Linked DNA regions of Homo sapiens: region 2 is linked to region 1. The links are contacts of gene promoters, found by promoter capture Hi-C in blood cells and fetal thymus (Javierre and others, 2016). All regions are on one chromosome and are shown on one strand. Each heading gives the region's core, a stretch centred on a gene start or on the middle of the fragment in contact. The rest is flanking DNA. Distances are from core to core; before and after follow the strand shown. Region 1 holds the start of ONECUT2 (one cut homeobox 2). Region 2 overlaps WDR7 (WD repeat domain 7).

Region 1 (7,831 bases), core at 1,853-4,352:
AAGCCCGGGGGATCGGGGGTGGAAACCTGAGCTCGCAGCTCCGGAAGCGAGCTGTGCGAGGCTGGCTCGGAACCGCGCGCATCCCAAGACCCGCGCTATGCAAATCATCGCCACCACGAATTGTTCCCCTAGACCGCCCGCCGATCCTGAAAGATACCCCCCTCCACCCGATCCATGGGAAGTCGCCCACCCTGGCTTGCCATAGGGTATAGTGTGTCCTTCCCAGCGGGGGACCTGGACATTTTGCCCCTCTGGGCCCGTGGCTTGCTCCTAGGGGCAGCGCAGTCGCCACGCACACCGCGCGGGGTCCGTGCGCACAAAAGCGCGCAACTGCGTGCCAGTCGCAGTAACTACTGCATCTTTCCCTCTAGCTCGCGCACCCGCCGCCCACACAGGAGGTTTCTGTGCTCCTAGAACAATAGAGGGCTGTACCTCGCAGCTTGGCCGCTAGAGGAGGCACAAAGAGCCGAGCCGGCTCCAGAACAATGTAACCCGCGCCTCTACCCGTCCCCTCCCGCGGGCCGCCAGTCCTCCCCGCGGTCGCCAGGCGCGCACAATCAGCGCCCGCTTAATGCAAAGGCGGAGCCTGCAGCCGGCGGCAGGGATGCATTAACTAACCTGAATTTTTAATTTCTCAGCACCTCTTCCTGCGAGTGCTCAGGGTCTCCCGGAGCCCCGGCAAATCCTGGCAAATCCCAGCAAACGCTGGGACCGGGGCAAGGACGGCCGGTGAGCAAGGCAAAGCGCTTTCCACCTCAGTCTCTTCTCCCACGTCCTCCCAAAGCGGTGAATGTGACCTTCTCAACCTTACACCCTGCCCTCGCTGTAGGTAGTGACATTGGAGCTGGCCCGAGCCCCTCAAGCCCGGTCAGAAAGTCCCTGCGCCAACGCCAAGGCCAGAGATGGGCTCCAGGAGCGCTGTTGTATCCTGGCCGCCGGTTCCCCGCGGGGGCAAGGCTGTGCCTTCAGCCAATGACCAAATAAGTTTGCCTATATGGTGGGTGGGAGAGTAGAGAGCTCTTTTCCCTCTGCAGAGCAAAGCCTCTCAACTGCCTCTGCACAGGGAGACTAGTCAGCCCGGAAAATTGAAATGTGTTGTCTAAAAGAGACTTGAAGTGCATGGGGTTTTGAATAAGGGCAGGTCCTGGTTTCTGTGGGTCTTGGAAAGACAGGGCTCCTAGAGGAAAACGCACACCCCCATCCCGCCTCCCAGTACCTGGGAAGATCGGAAATAGGGCAAAGGTTGGCACATTGAGGGGAGGGCGAATGAAATGGGGGGGGGTCGGTCAATGAAAGCTCAGGGACAAGGAGAGAGTAAGAAAGAAAAAGAAAAGGGAGAAGGGAAAGTAGGGGAAGAGCGGAAGAGAAAGAGAAAATGGAAGAAGAAATAAAAACGAGAAGAAAGAGGACGTGTATAGGAAAGAGAAGGAAAGAATCAAGAGAAGTGACTCGGCGCGCAGACTTGGGCCACAAGCACCGGACCCGGAGCCCTCTTCCCAGCAGCCTGGCCCCTGGCTAGCCCCGGCCTTACCTGCCAGGCGTAAGGCGGACATGCGCTGGAACTCGGGCTCCTGAAGCCACTTCCACATCCTGCGGAAGGTCTCCCTGCCAGATTTGAGTTTACTCCACGGTTTTGGATTCCGGAGCAGGTCGGAGAGAGTCCCCTGAGACCGGCACAGCACCCTCTGCGCAAAGATCGCCTGGGGGATACTGTAGCGCTTCAGCTCCGCTGTGATGCGCTGGGCCACCTCTTTGGTGTTGATTTCTTCCAGCTGGCCCGACGTGGCCACCTGCGAGCCCGATGAGGACGAGGGTGGCCGCTCGCGACTGGGTGCCAGCACCGGCCCGTGAGACTGAGTGTGGCCCGGGTGGTGCAGGCCGTTCAGGTGCGACATCATGGCCGCAGGTGGGGTGCCCAGGCCGCGGGACAGGTGTTGCTCACCGCGGGTCAGCATGGCAGTGTGGTGCGCGTCGAAGTTGGGGCTGAGCATTTTGTCGTGGCCCGGCGGACCGTAGTTGGGCAGACTCTGCTGCGCGTTGTGGAGGCCGCCTAGCCCGTTGCCCAGCGGCGTGGCGGCCAGCGGGGACAGGCTCTGGCTCATGCCGGGCATCTCCTTGTAGGGACTGTAGAGGTTGTTCATGGCCGGGAGCCCGCGCTCGTCGCGCATGAGGGTGAAGCTGCCGCTGACGTTGCCGGACAGGCGCTGGTGGTGGTGGTGGTGGTGGTGGTGCGGATGGTGGTGCGGGTGAGGGTGGTGGAACTTGTCAGACACGGTGGAGATGGGTGGCAGCGGCTGGAGCGGTGTCAGCGTGGTGTAGGTGTTGCTCATGCCCATGCCAGGCGGAGACGAGTCGCAGGACATGCTCATGGCGTGGTGCAGCGGGATGGAGAGCTCGGGCCGGTAGTCGCCGCCGTCCAGGATCGAGGCCATGCTGGTGACCATGGCCGAGCGCGACGCCGCCGCTGCCGCCGCTGCCGCCGTGCCCAGCTCCTGGTGCGCGGTTGGAGGCGGCGGAGGGCCCCGCAGCGAGCCAGCGGCGCCGCGGCCCGCGTGGTGGGGGCTGGGGCTGGCCAGCAGCTCCTGCTCATGGCCCGGGCCCCCGCCGCCGCCCCCGCCGCCCCCGCCGCCGCCCCCGCCACTGCCGCCGCCGGCCGGCCCGTGCAAAGTGCCCAGACTTTCCATTGTCAGCTCCGGGTTCATGGCGCAGCCTTCTAGGTCTTTGGTGAGGCATCGATAGGCGGTGTAGGCAGCCTTCATTCAGTCCATCAGGGCCCGGGGGCGGCGGGGGCGGCGGGGGCGGCCGGCGGGCGGGCAAGGCGCGCGTGGCGGGGCTCGGCTGCGGGAGTGGGGGCGGGCGCGGGAGTGAGTGGAGAGGAGTGCGCGTGCGGGTGTGCGCCCCGGGCTGCGGGCGGGCTCGCCCGGGGTGGGGGCGGGGTGGGGGCGGACGGGGCGTGCGTGCGGGAGAGGGGAGGGGACGGGGAGGGAGGGAGGGATCACCGGGCCCCGCCGCTCGGGCCGGCTCGCAGCCTCGCCATGTCCGAGCCCGCTCCGGCGCCGACGTCTTCTGTTTGGGTGAGCGGGAGCTGTCCAGAAGGGCTCTGCCGCTCGCCGGGGCAGCCAACCTACCCTCCCGGACCTGGGGCGGGGCCACGCCCGACGGGCGCCAAGCGCAACCACTCCGAGGCCGCAGCTGCCCCGGGAGGCGGGCCTTCCACGGGAAGCTACCAGTGGCTGTGGAGGGGGCGGGGCCGCACTTTTCAGGTTTGGCTGACGGCTCGGTGCCTTTTTTACCTCCTTTGCTACTGGAATCAAACGTCAAGGAGAGGGAGGGAGGAGAAGGTGGGGGGGTCGCTGGGGAGAGGGAGGCTGGAGTGCGAGCGAGCGAGAGAGATTCGGTGAAAGATGCCGTGCTGTGTCCCCCCTGAGCAGCTGCGATCTGGGGGAAGGGGCATTGCTTCAATCGCCTTCGCCTCACCCCAAAGCTTTCCTGGAGGCGAGTAAGCCGGGAGCAAAAGACTCCGCTATGTGCCAGTATAGACAAACACTCGTCACTAACAAGCCACTTACCGAGAGTCCCTAGCTGGGAGCCAATAGTTTAGCCTTTTAAAATGCAGGCGCTAATGTATTCTAATGCATGGTAAATTCCCGAGGCCGGGACATGCATAATCTACGCGGTCAGAGCAACTGTAGTGCCCTCGTCGCCAGCGAGCTGCGGCCGGCCGGCGGCCCACGGGCGGCGCGGGCAGCAGTAATGCATGCAAAGTTAACACAATAACATCATTTAATTACCCGGTGAGCCCATAAATCTCAGTTATGAGGCTTCCGAAGAGCCCTGCTAGATTGCAAAACAAAACTAGAATTCCGGGAGCTGCCGTTTCAAGGTGACCAAGTGCTTTCTGCATCAGCGACTTGGAAAGAAGTGGGGAGAGTGTAGAACCGGTGAGGTGGAGGTGAGGAGGGTCGCTGGTGTCCCAAGTGAGCAAACTTCTCCTGGGGGCAGAGAGTAAGCAAACCAGCTGAGACGGCAACCACGGACCTTTCTCCTAACACGAGACACACACACGCGCACACACACACACACACACACACACACACACTCCCGCTTCTCTCAAATCCCGGGAGAGAAACGGCGGTGGGCAGACGACAAGGAATCCTGGCTGACACCTGCATATTCAAACCTTGTTTCTGAAAAGACCAGCGCCCCGGCCAGCCTGAGAACGCTCACAAGCCAAGGCTTTAAAAACCGCACCTACGTCTTCCTAGAATTTCCGTTGTTTGGCAACCCCAGGTCTGGAGGTGGGAGTGGAACTGGGGGACAGAGAGTTGGAGATTTCTGCAGTCCGAGTCGGGGTGGAGGGGTAGTTGAAGACAGAGAGGCCAACACCCGGCATAAAGCCTTAAACGTAACAAGATTCTTCCAAAGCAGGTTGCGCTCTGTTTGCCTCCGAAGATTCAAGCTAGCTGAGGTTGCGCAGATGTTGCCTTTGTTTAAAGAGACAGTAATTAAGGACAGGGTGGACATAAGTTTGAGAAGCGTGACCTATTTTCTTTTGATCAGCTGTCAAAAGAAGAGCAGGGGGTCTCCTTAAGACAGCCCCCTTCAACCACTTCCAGCTGTTAGAGAAAACTTGATAAGAAAACAAGGGCAGAGCTCGGAATACTGTATGTCCCTTCTTGGTGCCAGAGAAAGGTTTGATTCATTTGGAAAACAGTTCTTAGTCTCAGTGACCTTTTCTGCCGCCCTCCTCTCTCTTCTTGCTTCAGAGCAACACCCCCACCCCCACCCTGTCACATGAATGTACAGTGACGTTATTCATAGATCAACTTCATTGAGCTCTGGCCAATACGCTGCCAATTATTCTTTCAAATAGCGTCTTCTCTGTGTTATCAAAGCCTGAGTAAGAAAGCGGCAGATCCTCTGGTTTGCCAGACATACTTTTCTGGTTGCTCACATCTCTAGTGTCACAACAGGAGCCAGGTAAAATAACTCAGATTTTGGTTTCTCTGTTTTTCCTCTCCTCCTCACCCCCTCCTACTGTCTCTCTTCGCACTCCCTACCTTATATATGGCATCTGGACACTTGGGATGATTTGAGTCAGTTAATGTTTGAAATATAATACTGAGTTGAGCAAAAGTTCACGAGAGTGCAACCTGTTCTTGGTCCATGAGTGCACAGGGACTGAAATACAGCAGGAGAGAAGCAGAACTGGGAAGTAGTGGGTCTGATATGCCCCAGTGCTAAGGTAGCCTCTGCTGCTCTGCTGGCTTCAGTCTCAAGGAGTGGCCAGTTACCCTAGGCTGATGCTTCCTCCATACAGAAACCTAGGTATATAAATTGCCATTTAAATAAATTTTCAAAATGTTAAACTCATTTGCCAGGACACTGAGATAAACCTGCTTTTGGGAATTATATTTCGGTGTGCCTGGGAGCAGAAAGGTGAGTTGCATTTTCTCGCTGCCTCGCTTCCTTCCTTCCTCCCTCCCTCCTCCCTCACTCCCACCATCCCTCCGCCTTCCCTCGATCAATATTGGCGATCTCAGGGAAATCATGAAATCGTATTGGCTTCTTTGTGTATAATTTCATTGGACTAGAATTAAAGCAGATTTTTCACGTTGTTTTTATAATGGTGGTTTGAGGTTTTATGTTTCAACCCAAAATCCATTTAAAAGGAAAATGGATGTGCTTGTTTAGTGAGCACCCTAATTTTTACTGAATTAGGTTTGGATGCCCTTTTCTCTTTCTTTCTAAAAAGGAACAATATTTGTTTTTTACTTCAAGACAATTTTTGGAGTATCAATACTAATACGATTTTCAAGTATTTTTTGAAATATTTTTGATGTTTCTTTCTCTATAGTTCTTTAAGAAAATATAAGGGAAAGTGGCTTTCTAACTGCCCCTTGTTTAGCATCCATACTTTAACCTTAAGAAGTTCTGCAACTTGGAATTTTTTCTTTTAATTTGAAGTTACACTCCTCTTCTCCCCCCTCCCCACCAGCATTTGATTTACAAACACACTGTATAGAAATGTGGTATGATAAGTGCTAATTCACGGCTATTAGAATCTGGACAAACAGTTGTACCAAGCATTATATCAGGACCTGGATATTCACTTAGCATGCCACATTCACAGGTCCAATTTTCTTGAAGATCAGAAACTTAAATGGGTCAAAAGAAGCATGAAAATAAAATGCAGCTTCGACAACAAGACTATTATAGGCTATTGCACTGTAAAAGAAAAACATTCTGAACTTGAGTTAGCAATTGCAGGAAAATAACTATTTACTATCGGAGTTTTTCGTATGTGTTTTCCACAATAAAATTGTTTTTAGGTATAGAGAGACACACACAGAGAGGTGAACATTCAATTAAAAGAGATACTTTATAAATTATTCACGGAAAAAGATAAACAGACCACAAGTAAACCCAATCTGCATAAGGGGCCCAATATCTTTGTTTTTACTATACAACAGTAACCACGACCCAAATCTAGGGTAGAGGAGAGCTGCTAATTTCTACCCCAATGCTCGAAATCTTGTCAGGTTTTGTGTCAGGGTAGAACACATTTATGCTACAACTAGGTTATCAGAGCAATACACACACAAAAAAACATAATGGTGGGTTGATTTGGACTATTTTATTTTTGTCCTTCCCCAAACCATCTGGCGTGTTAGTGTAGGGGTATTGATCAGGGATCTGTGAGCTGCAGACCCCATGCCAATCCATAGCGTTTCTGGCAATCAGCGTCGCCCATGAATTGCAGCTGTCTGTGCAGCTCCTCAACAGAAATCTTCAAAAAAAAAAAAAAATTTCCCTCCCTTATCAAACACATCATCCGTTCGGGGGTAAGTCAATATCATTTCTTTGTCATTCTGAGGGCGAGGATTATGCGGTAGAAAGTTTTTGTTATCTGTTATAGCTGCTGCTGCGCCTGCCTTTTTTTTAAAAAAAAAAAAAAAAAAAAGGAAGGAGAGCAATTTTCTAGCCTTTGAATGGTAATGGTTTTCCAGAAAGGCCTCAAACGTTTGTAAGAATGGGGCAACAAATGCTGTTTCAATATTGTAGGGGAATTTGAAGAGGACAAGGAAACTCTTAGGTCGCTATACACAAATAATAGTAGTGATAACACAAGGTTCCTTTTCACGACAGAGAATTTTCTCCCCTTTCCTCGGATCCCCTGGTAATGAAGACAGGGCAAGTCTCTGTGATTACACGTGCAGATGGACAGTGGGTGCTTGTGGCGGAAAAGGGGCCCTCGGAATTGTGGCTCTGTTTGAGATCTTCATTAGCTTCAGGTTTCTTCTGTTTGAAAGCTCGGGCTGGCTGAGCCCAGGGAGAATAAAACTAAAACCGAAGCCGGGCCCCACTAATTCTCTTTGGCCTCTCAGCTCAGAAATTCACTGTCACAATTCACCGTCACTTTTCAGATTTGCCAGTTGGATCTTGGAAAGTTTTTGTTTGTTTGTTTTTCTGGGTGGTGAGGCCAAACGCGTCCTTTTTTGTCTCCTTCTTCTTCGTTAATCTTGTTAAAATTCAAAACGCCAGGTTAGCAGAGCTGGCAGGGGACTGCCCTTAACTTTTTGGTTGACAAAAGATACTTTGCGTGAGGGCAGGGAGAGATATGGGGTTGTTAGTCTTGTTCTCACCCTTGTCCGGCCTCTTAGGGAAAGGAAAAAGAAGCGACAGGAGCCCTGCGTGCTGGGGGAAGGTTCTCTCCGAGCCCCAAGCCCAGCACCTGGATTAGAAGGTGGGGGAGTAGGGCTGCGGGAAGCAAACTATAGTTTCCTCCGAAGTCCAGACGCCGAGAGTGGGCAGGCTTGAGAGAGGGGAA
Region 2 (7,831 bases), core at 1,995-4,494, 410 kb after region 1:
GAAAATATTTTTGTGTACATAATTAATCATGAATCTCAAATTGGTTAGCTGTTGATAAAGAAGGTGGTAGCTAAACCCTAGGAAATTGGATTGAGTAATTTCCTAGCAATCACCAGAAGAAAAGAACATGTAAACACAGAATCTTTTTGGTAAACAATATTTTAGGTAATTCAAAGGGCAATAATTTCAATCGTGAGGACTGCCACATGACCTCAACACCCAGTGTCAGAACGGCCAGATTCAAGCAGCACTTCAGAGGTGCGGTTGAGATGGCTAAAAATGCTGATCTGGGCTGGGAGTGCAATCACAGTGTTTATTGATTTTTGTGCTTCTGTTGCACCAAGCAACAAGAGCGTTCCCAGGAACCACTGGCTTTCCCCTGCCATCTCTGGCAGGGAAAAACTACCTGGTGACAGGATGGCCACATCCTGCAGAGCATGTGTGCGTGCCTCTGAATCGACAGATGGCACGAGCGGGTTCTGCCCCTGAGAAGCATGCACAAGTGACAAGACCCGGCCGTGCCACTGGATGGCACTGGGGTGGGCAGGCCCCTGGGAACAATCTGGTGTGAGGAAGGACAGAGCAACATCGGCTTGGATAATTTAGAGAACTAAAACGCAGTCACGGCGGCAGGCAGCAGCATTAGACCATGAAGCGGTGCTCCTTCCCGTCATGGGCCATGAGGATGACGTTGCGGTTGGAAGTCCAGATGAGCCGGGCCAGCTTGAGGGCATTGTGGGAGCCGGGGGACGCGGGCTGCACAGGGGGCACCTGGTAGGTTTTAATGCAGCGCAGCTGAGGTGCCGAGTTCAGCATGCCGATGCTTCCCAGCAGTGACGTGTTCATCTGGAGGGACAGGAGAGCACATGTGTCACTTGAACAGCCCTCTCCCTTTCCCTATCACAGAGACTGGGTCGATCTCTCCTGGCTACTTTCCCCTCCATCATGGTTATTCTCCTTCACCTAAGCTTGTTCTTAACCTCTCAAAAGTTCCTTTCAGTGTGCTTGGAATTGTTCCGATGCTGTTATGGTAAATGCAGAAATCTAGAGGAATTTTATAGGGGTAGAACCTGACAAAAGGAGAGTCCATGGATCTTTAGGAAGAGGGCTAAATTATACCTCTTAATAAAATGGTTCATTTAGACAACACAGATATTTGGAAATTGTGGATATTTAAAACTGAAGACTTTCATGTTCTTTACCACAATGCTAACTGCACTCACTCCCTGAAGGATGAGTCAGCGAAGACAAGTTTTGGGATTTGTAATTAGTTCAAGAAAAGGAAGCAAAGTTAAGCAGTAGATAGAGTGACAATTGGATCAAATAAAGCTCAAGACTCCCTTCCACCCCCATTTCCCACCTACTAATACCTTCACTCTTCACTTGCTTTTTAAAAACTCGCTTTCTGGAAAGCTCTTGCTTATTATAAAGTGCAGAACCAGAATCAATTTCATCTCAACACTATGTCTGTGCCTCACTGTTTTGCTATCATACTAAGGAGAGTCTGCTGTTAATATTTTATTGACAATACCTTTTTATCAATTGATAACTTCTGCTTTTTGGCAGTTTTTCTGGATTTAAATTTTAGGTTTTCTTAATCCAGCCACATAAATGAAAAACAACATGGAAATTATGAATCATGAACAACTATGCATTCAGGTTGAAGTACTAAATACTGAATGGTAGCTGTCTAAGTGAACTGTTTCCTAAGCAACTGAGTCTGAAGATTTCTTTAGATTCTAAATATTACTTAAAATATCTTCAATAGCATTATGTGTGCTATTATAATATCACATGGAAAGAATACTGAAAATCTGGAAAGAAGCCTTGGAAATAACACTTTTTCTTTGTACTAATTTTCATTTCCAATGCTTCTCTCCAGTATAACCTCCATCTCGATGTAAGATTCTAGAGATTTGCATGAAGCATGCAGATTATGATCCAACATCTACAAATGGTTGATCCATGAAACTCTGGCAAATCCTAGGACATTTAAGATGCGTTATCACTGACATCATCCCCTGCATGTGGATCAGTGCAAAACACAAGCCATTCCTTTTTCTAGCCCTTCTCAGCAGCAGGATGGTGTCAGAGGGCGTAAATCATGGCATCTCTAGCAGAGTGTGTGCAGGCTCCACTGACATTTTCACAATTTAAATCATCTTGAGTAATAACCCTTTTAAGATGACTAATGTTACTGATTTTCCTGCATTAATAATAGCGCTGAACACAACACAGAGGTGAAAAAAAATCACTAGTGTACGAGGTCACATTTTAAAACCAAATGTATGGTTATTGTTAACTCTTTCTGTTAAAGTTCGGTTCCTGTTTCCAGCCAGGCAGTTCCTTACTGTCACCCTTTCAGAAGCGTGTTTCTTTGCTTCCTTCTCTCCTTTTCCCAAAAACTTCACAGAAGATAAAAATCAATGCCTTATTGCTTTCTTGGATGTTCCCAAATAGTTAAAATATAAATAATGATGATGAGCTTAATTTGATAGATCCAAATGACACAGAAGATTGCTGGTTAACATTAACTGGCATCAACAGGCGTAGTGTGTTTTAGAAAAAATCTAATTTCTCAGTTGATAAATAACTACAAGGTATTTTTCATTCTTTATGGATTTTCTATGAATATATGTATGAAGCTTGACTTCTGCTGGTAATTCAAAATGCAAGGGGCATATAATGCTCAGACACTTCCTTATTTTTAATTCCTCTCTTCAAATTTAGCCAGGAACAAAAAATGGGTTGAGAGCTAAACATGAAAAGGGAGAGAATATCTCATGGGAATACTCTAGATGTAAAGATTTTAGAAAAGGCCATTACAACTGGGTTCCTCTTATAACCTGAGCCATCCCTACTTTGATAAATGCCTTTGGTCAGGTCAAATAGCCTTCCTGCCTGAGAATAGGGATTTGTGAAATTCTATAAGGGACATAACTATCATAGTTCACATATCCCTATTCCTGCCTGAGAATAGGGATATGTGAAATCCTGTAAGGGACATAACTATCATAGCTCACATATCCCTATTCCTGTCTGAGAATAGGGATATGTGAAATTCTATAAGGGACATAACTATCATAGCTCACATATCCCTATTCCTGTCTGAGAATAGGGATATGTGAAATCCTGTAAGGGACATAACTATCATAGTTCACATATCCCTATTCCTGTCTGAGAATAGGGATATGTGAAATTCTATAAGGGACATAACTATCATAGCTCACATATCCCTATTCCTGCCTGAGAATAGGGATATGTGAAATTCTATAAGGGACATAACTATCATAGCTCACATATCCCTATTCCTGTCTGAGAATAGGGATATGTGAAATCCTGTAAGGGACATAACATGTGGAACGATAAAGACCCCCATGTTCACTAAAATGCATTGCTCAAGATCATCCTTTCCCTATGACCTCTTCAAATTCGGCATGAATGTGAAGTATTATAGTAACGGTATTAATTTTTCCAATAAACTCAGACAAATGACTCTCTCTGAAACAACTAACAATTTTTTCAATATTAATGTTTTCTTGAACAGCGACTGGATACAAACGATGCTCGAGTAAGGACATCTTGAGCCTTGAATGAATGCAAACTATGTGGAATTATGAGATTTGGTAACATTCACTTTTTCCTGATTGCAAAGATAGTAAATACTCATTGTGGAAAATTCAAATAATAAAGAAAAGTACAAAAAGGAAAGCAAAAAACCCCTGAAATATCTTTTCCCAAAGACAGTCACTGTTAAAATTTTGGTAAACAACCTTCCAGACCTCCACATATACATAAAGATGAAGAGAAGCAGAGTTAATAAATTTTATATAAACAAGCTTATATTAAAATGTAGTTTCATAATTTGCCTTTTTGTTCAACAAAATGCTGATGGCAGTCTTCTCTTGTTAATGACTACAAATTTACATTATTCCTTTTAAATGGCTGAATAGTATTCTACTATACAATGGAGTAAATAAAAATAAACGAAACCAGTATCTACCTAATTTATTATCAGCATTTCTGAAAAAGGATATTTGCTGGACAGTGGTGGTAAGATTTGGGTGAGAGAATTGTGACTGTATTTCATTACTAAACTCCTCCTCTTGCTCAAATGCCAATGGATACAGAGAAGTGAAATATTCAAATTGTAGAAAACGGGGTTAGAAAATCAAAGGGCTTGAAAGACTGCCAAATTACATCATTTGATAGATGAGAATGTAAATTCACTCAAGTGTAACTTTGGCTTTTTTCTTCCCTTCAAAAATAAACGCTTCACAAAACTGGTTCTTTGAAGATTATTTTCTGAACACACAGAAACACAGCTATAATTCATCACAACAGGAAATGTTTTAATGCTATTCCCAATGTAAGTAATGCTGCACACAGACCTTACTAAGTCTCACTTGAGTAATTATCCAACCAATATTTCTCATTAACACTCATTTCTCAGCAAAGATTTTAATAGCTGATAGCTTTAGTAAGGCTCTGTATTAATAAGACTTCATTAACTTTTCAAAATATATTACAGTACACTTACTGGAATAATATAAAAGTATTCTGATACATCATTACAACGAAACAACATGTATCTAAATAAATCAGCAAAGCCCATTTGGGGAGAGCAGCAGTAGATCTAATACTGTTTTTTGGACTCTTAATTCAAATAAGACAACTACAATTCTGGAAGAGATTTCATTGCATTTTCCTGAGAAAGCTGAAAGGACTTGTTTTTGTATCTTCCATTAAAATTTCAAGACTGAGTTTGGTACAACATAAACATGAAGAAATGGGCTGTATGTTAAATTCCGACATTGGTTTTAGAGGCAAGAATGACCTGGGTGTTGCCTGGGCTGCTTTGGCTTTGGCATGTGCAAATAACAGGAAGCAGCCCTTGGAGTAGGTGAGCTTGTGGATTAAGGACATGTACTGCAGCCCCACTGTGTGCAAAGCCACGTGTCCAGGCACACAGATGTGAGTGCGCTTGGCAAAGCCCAGAGTCAACAGCAGGAGGCTTCAGAGAGGAACTGGAAGACAAAAAGATGTTACCTGAAAAGGAAGCCATCTAATAAACGAGCTTGGTCTCTAAGTGAAAAGGATGTTACCCATAATCCCATCAGTGACCTGGGCAGTAATTTTGATATAAATAGAAAAATATTCAAGGAAGGGATGAGCATATCCAAATAAAACCTTGAAGATCTTAGGGGAAAAAGATAATTTAACATTTAGAAAATTTCATTTAAAATACTCCTGAAAATACTGGGAAAAGTTTCAAATCTGGCTAATATGTGAGGTATTTCTTATATAAGAAATTATGTTTTCTTAGCAGAAAGAAAGTTGGAAAAAAGAGATGTTTTGTTTGTTTATTCCAAAGAAGAAACCCTGGACAGAACACAGGTTTCTGGCAAGCACGGACCCATGACTTACTGATCTCTGTGTCTCTAATGCACAGGCCAGTACCTACCACTCAGACATCCAATAAATGTGGAATGAGTGGAGCTTTATATAAATATTCCTCCAAGATCCCAAGAGAACAGGAAATAAAAGAAAATTTGTATGAAGGTACAGCTGACATAACAGAGGCCATTGAGTTAGACACGAGTGGCGGCGGGGGGGACCCCAAAAAAATCAGTAGGTAAAATCCTTAAAGAACCACTGCTGCAAAAGCCCAGTTTCTGGACACCTAATGGAATCACTGTGGAATTTCAGGAGTGGAAAACACCAGTGCTGTGGATACTCACTGGGAAAATGAGGGCTGGGTGAGATCTCTGATAAAGGGAGTTTAATATGAGCGAATTAAGATGCTGGAGATATATTCTGGAAGAAAGGCTAATGAGAAAATAAACTGGAAAACTAAATTAGATAAAAGTAGAAGAAGTCTGACAGATTTTGAAGTTGTCATGCTTTAATAGCACGTTGTTACTTAAGTAATTTATTGTATCCATTTTACATTTTATTACCTATTGATTTTTTCCAACTATCACCCAGTTATGCTGAAGCCTTGTTTAAACTTTTATTTTGTTTTGTTTTAGATTTCAAAGCAATAAACTGAATCTCATAAAACATACTGGCATTCTAAGAAAATAAAGGTAACAACAAAATTTTAAATTAACTTTTTTGGGGGTGTTTAATTTCTTGGTAATTTTCAGGACTAAAAGAGTAAGGTAATTAAAAAGAAGATGGGATAGAAATTAAGCAGTGAGGATCAAACATATTCTATTGCCAAAATTAGTTGCTCAAAATTAATGTTCATTTTATTCAGAACTAAACATAGGCATTCTCATGAACTGCTTACCAAAGACTACGTGAGATCTTAAGAAATGTTCTGAACAGTTTGAGCATTATGAGTATTATGTGGGAAATTCAGAATGCAAAGAAAAATGAGATAATTATAAAAGGGACATGAGGTGAACACTAGGAAAACACCTTATTATCCTATGCCCTACACCCTGTTAGAGTCACAGACCCAGGGACCAAGTGTGAAGGCCTCGTGTAAATGAATAGCTGAAGCCAGCGAGGCTTCTCCTGCCCGATTCCTCTCAGGCCAGGCCCTCAAACATGCCGGCCCTTGCTCACGGCTACTCATGCACCTGTGCCCCCTTCTTAACCACCCACACCTCCTGACCCACCCTGAACACTGAGCCCTTCCTCCACATCACTCAAGCCTCAGTTTAGGTGTCACTTCCCCTGAAAAGCCTTCCCACCACCTTATTCTCAGGCTCCCCTGGGACCATAATTGCTTGCTTATTTATGTATGTCTACTTCAGACTGCAAGCTCCATGAGAGCAGATGCCCCTCTTTCCAGATTGCTAATTGTATTCTCAGCACCCTGCATGCTAGTGCCTGGCACATCATCAGCAATCAATACAGACTGGATGTTTGCTGCAAGGAGGGAGGGAGGACAGGAAGGAGGGCCGGCAGGTAGGCTCAACAGGAAGGCTTACTACCAAAGGCATATCACGCAGTATATGCTTTAAGACCCTGGAGCATCTACTCTTACCTGCCAAAAAGAAATGTGGCTGTCAGTGTTTGAGTAGGTGGCAAGATATCTTCCATCAGGAGCAAAAGCCACTGCAGTGATTGGTCCCTTGTGTCCATGGATTGTCTAAAATAAAATTCAGATATCATGAATGATAAGCATTTCACAGGACAATTACAAGTACACACACAAATGCATTCAATGTTGAACAAGTTACGTCATGGGTATTAGATGCTGTTATCTTCTTTGTTTATAAAATCAGCTTAGAAAAATAAGCAAAGCAACAGACGTTCTCTCATTGAGGGAACTCTCCAAGGGCTTCAATCTTGTTCTGAGGTGTCCACCTGCCTCCTAGTTGGGGAGGGCAGCATGAGCCCAAAGAAAAAGCATATATTAATAGGCAAACCAATGTGCTAATTCATTTATGTCCACCACAGGGAAAAATTTTACAATTAGTTAGAAAGGTAAGAAACTGATCACCAGAAGTATCCAGGAACTTTGCTCATCTGAAATAAAAAACAATCAAAGCTGCGTTATAAAAATCCCTGTTCTGGAAGGAGTTAAAGACTATAATTTCATCTCCTTAATAATTATACACTGCTCATGCTTTATGCTTCATTTTCTACCAATAACACTGTATTTAAATGTATATAGCTGCAATTAGTAAATATACATCCACACACATGTGGGAGGTTTGGGCACACACATAAATCAAATACCATTAAAAACAAGTTAACAGGGATAGTTTTGAACCTCTGCCAAATAGCTATCATTGATTTAACCATGAATAATAAAAAGGAAGTTGTATTTTAGACTAGGTCTTTGATAGAAGGTCCCTCCTAATAAAAACAA

Evidence for each region. The method cuts DNA at HindIII sites, captures the fragments that hold promoters and counts their contacts. A CHiCAGO score of 5 or more calls a contact.
Region 2: a contact is called between a fragment that was not itself captured here and the fragment with the promoter of ONECUT2 in region 1, in 1 of 17 cell types (erythroblasts). The highest score is 6.1, in erythroblasts.

What each region holds. Positions count from the first base shown.
Region 1 is chr18:57,430,645-57,438,475 of GRCh38, reverse strand. It overlaps ONECUT2 (one cut homeobox 2), which reads right to left and starts at 3,102. Exons shown (of 2, transcript NM_004852.3): 1 at 1,532-3,102. The coding sequence starts at 2,759. RefSeq lists enhancers at 346-1,101, 3,216-3,795, 3,796-4,376 and a silencer at 3,173-3,222. The HindIII fragment of the contact is 9,553 bases long and covers 1-3,486 here.
Region 2 is chr18:57,020,019-57,027,849 of GRCh38, reverse strand. WDR7 (WD repeat domain 7) reads right to left here. Exons shown (of 28, transcript NM_015285.3): 27 at 7,001-7,105; 28 at 1-846. The coding sequence ends at 643. Among named protein-coding and RNA genes, the nearest start is that of WDR7-OT1, 16 kb to the left of the region's middle. The HindIII fragment of the contact is 1,194 bases long and covers 2,648-3,841 here.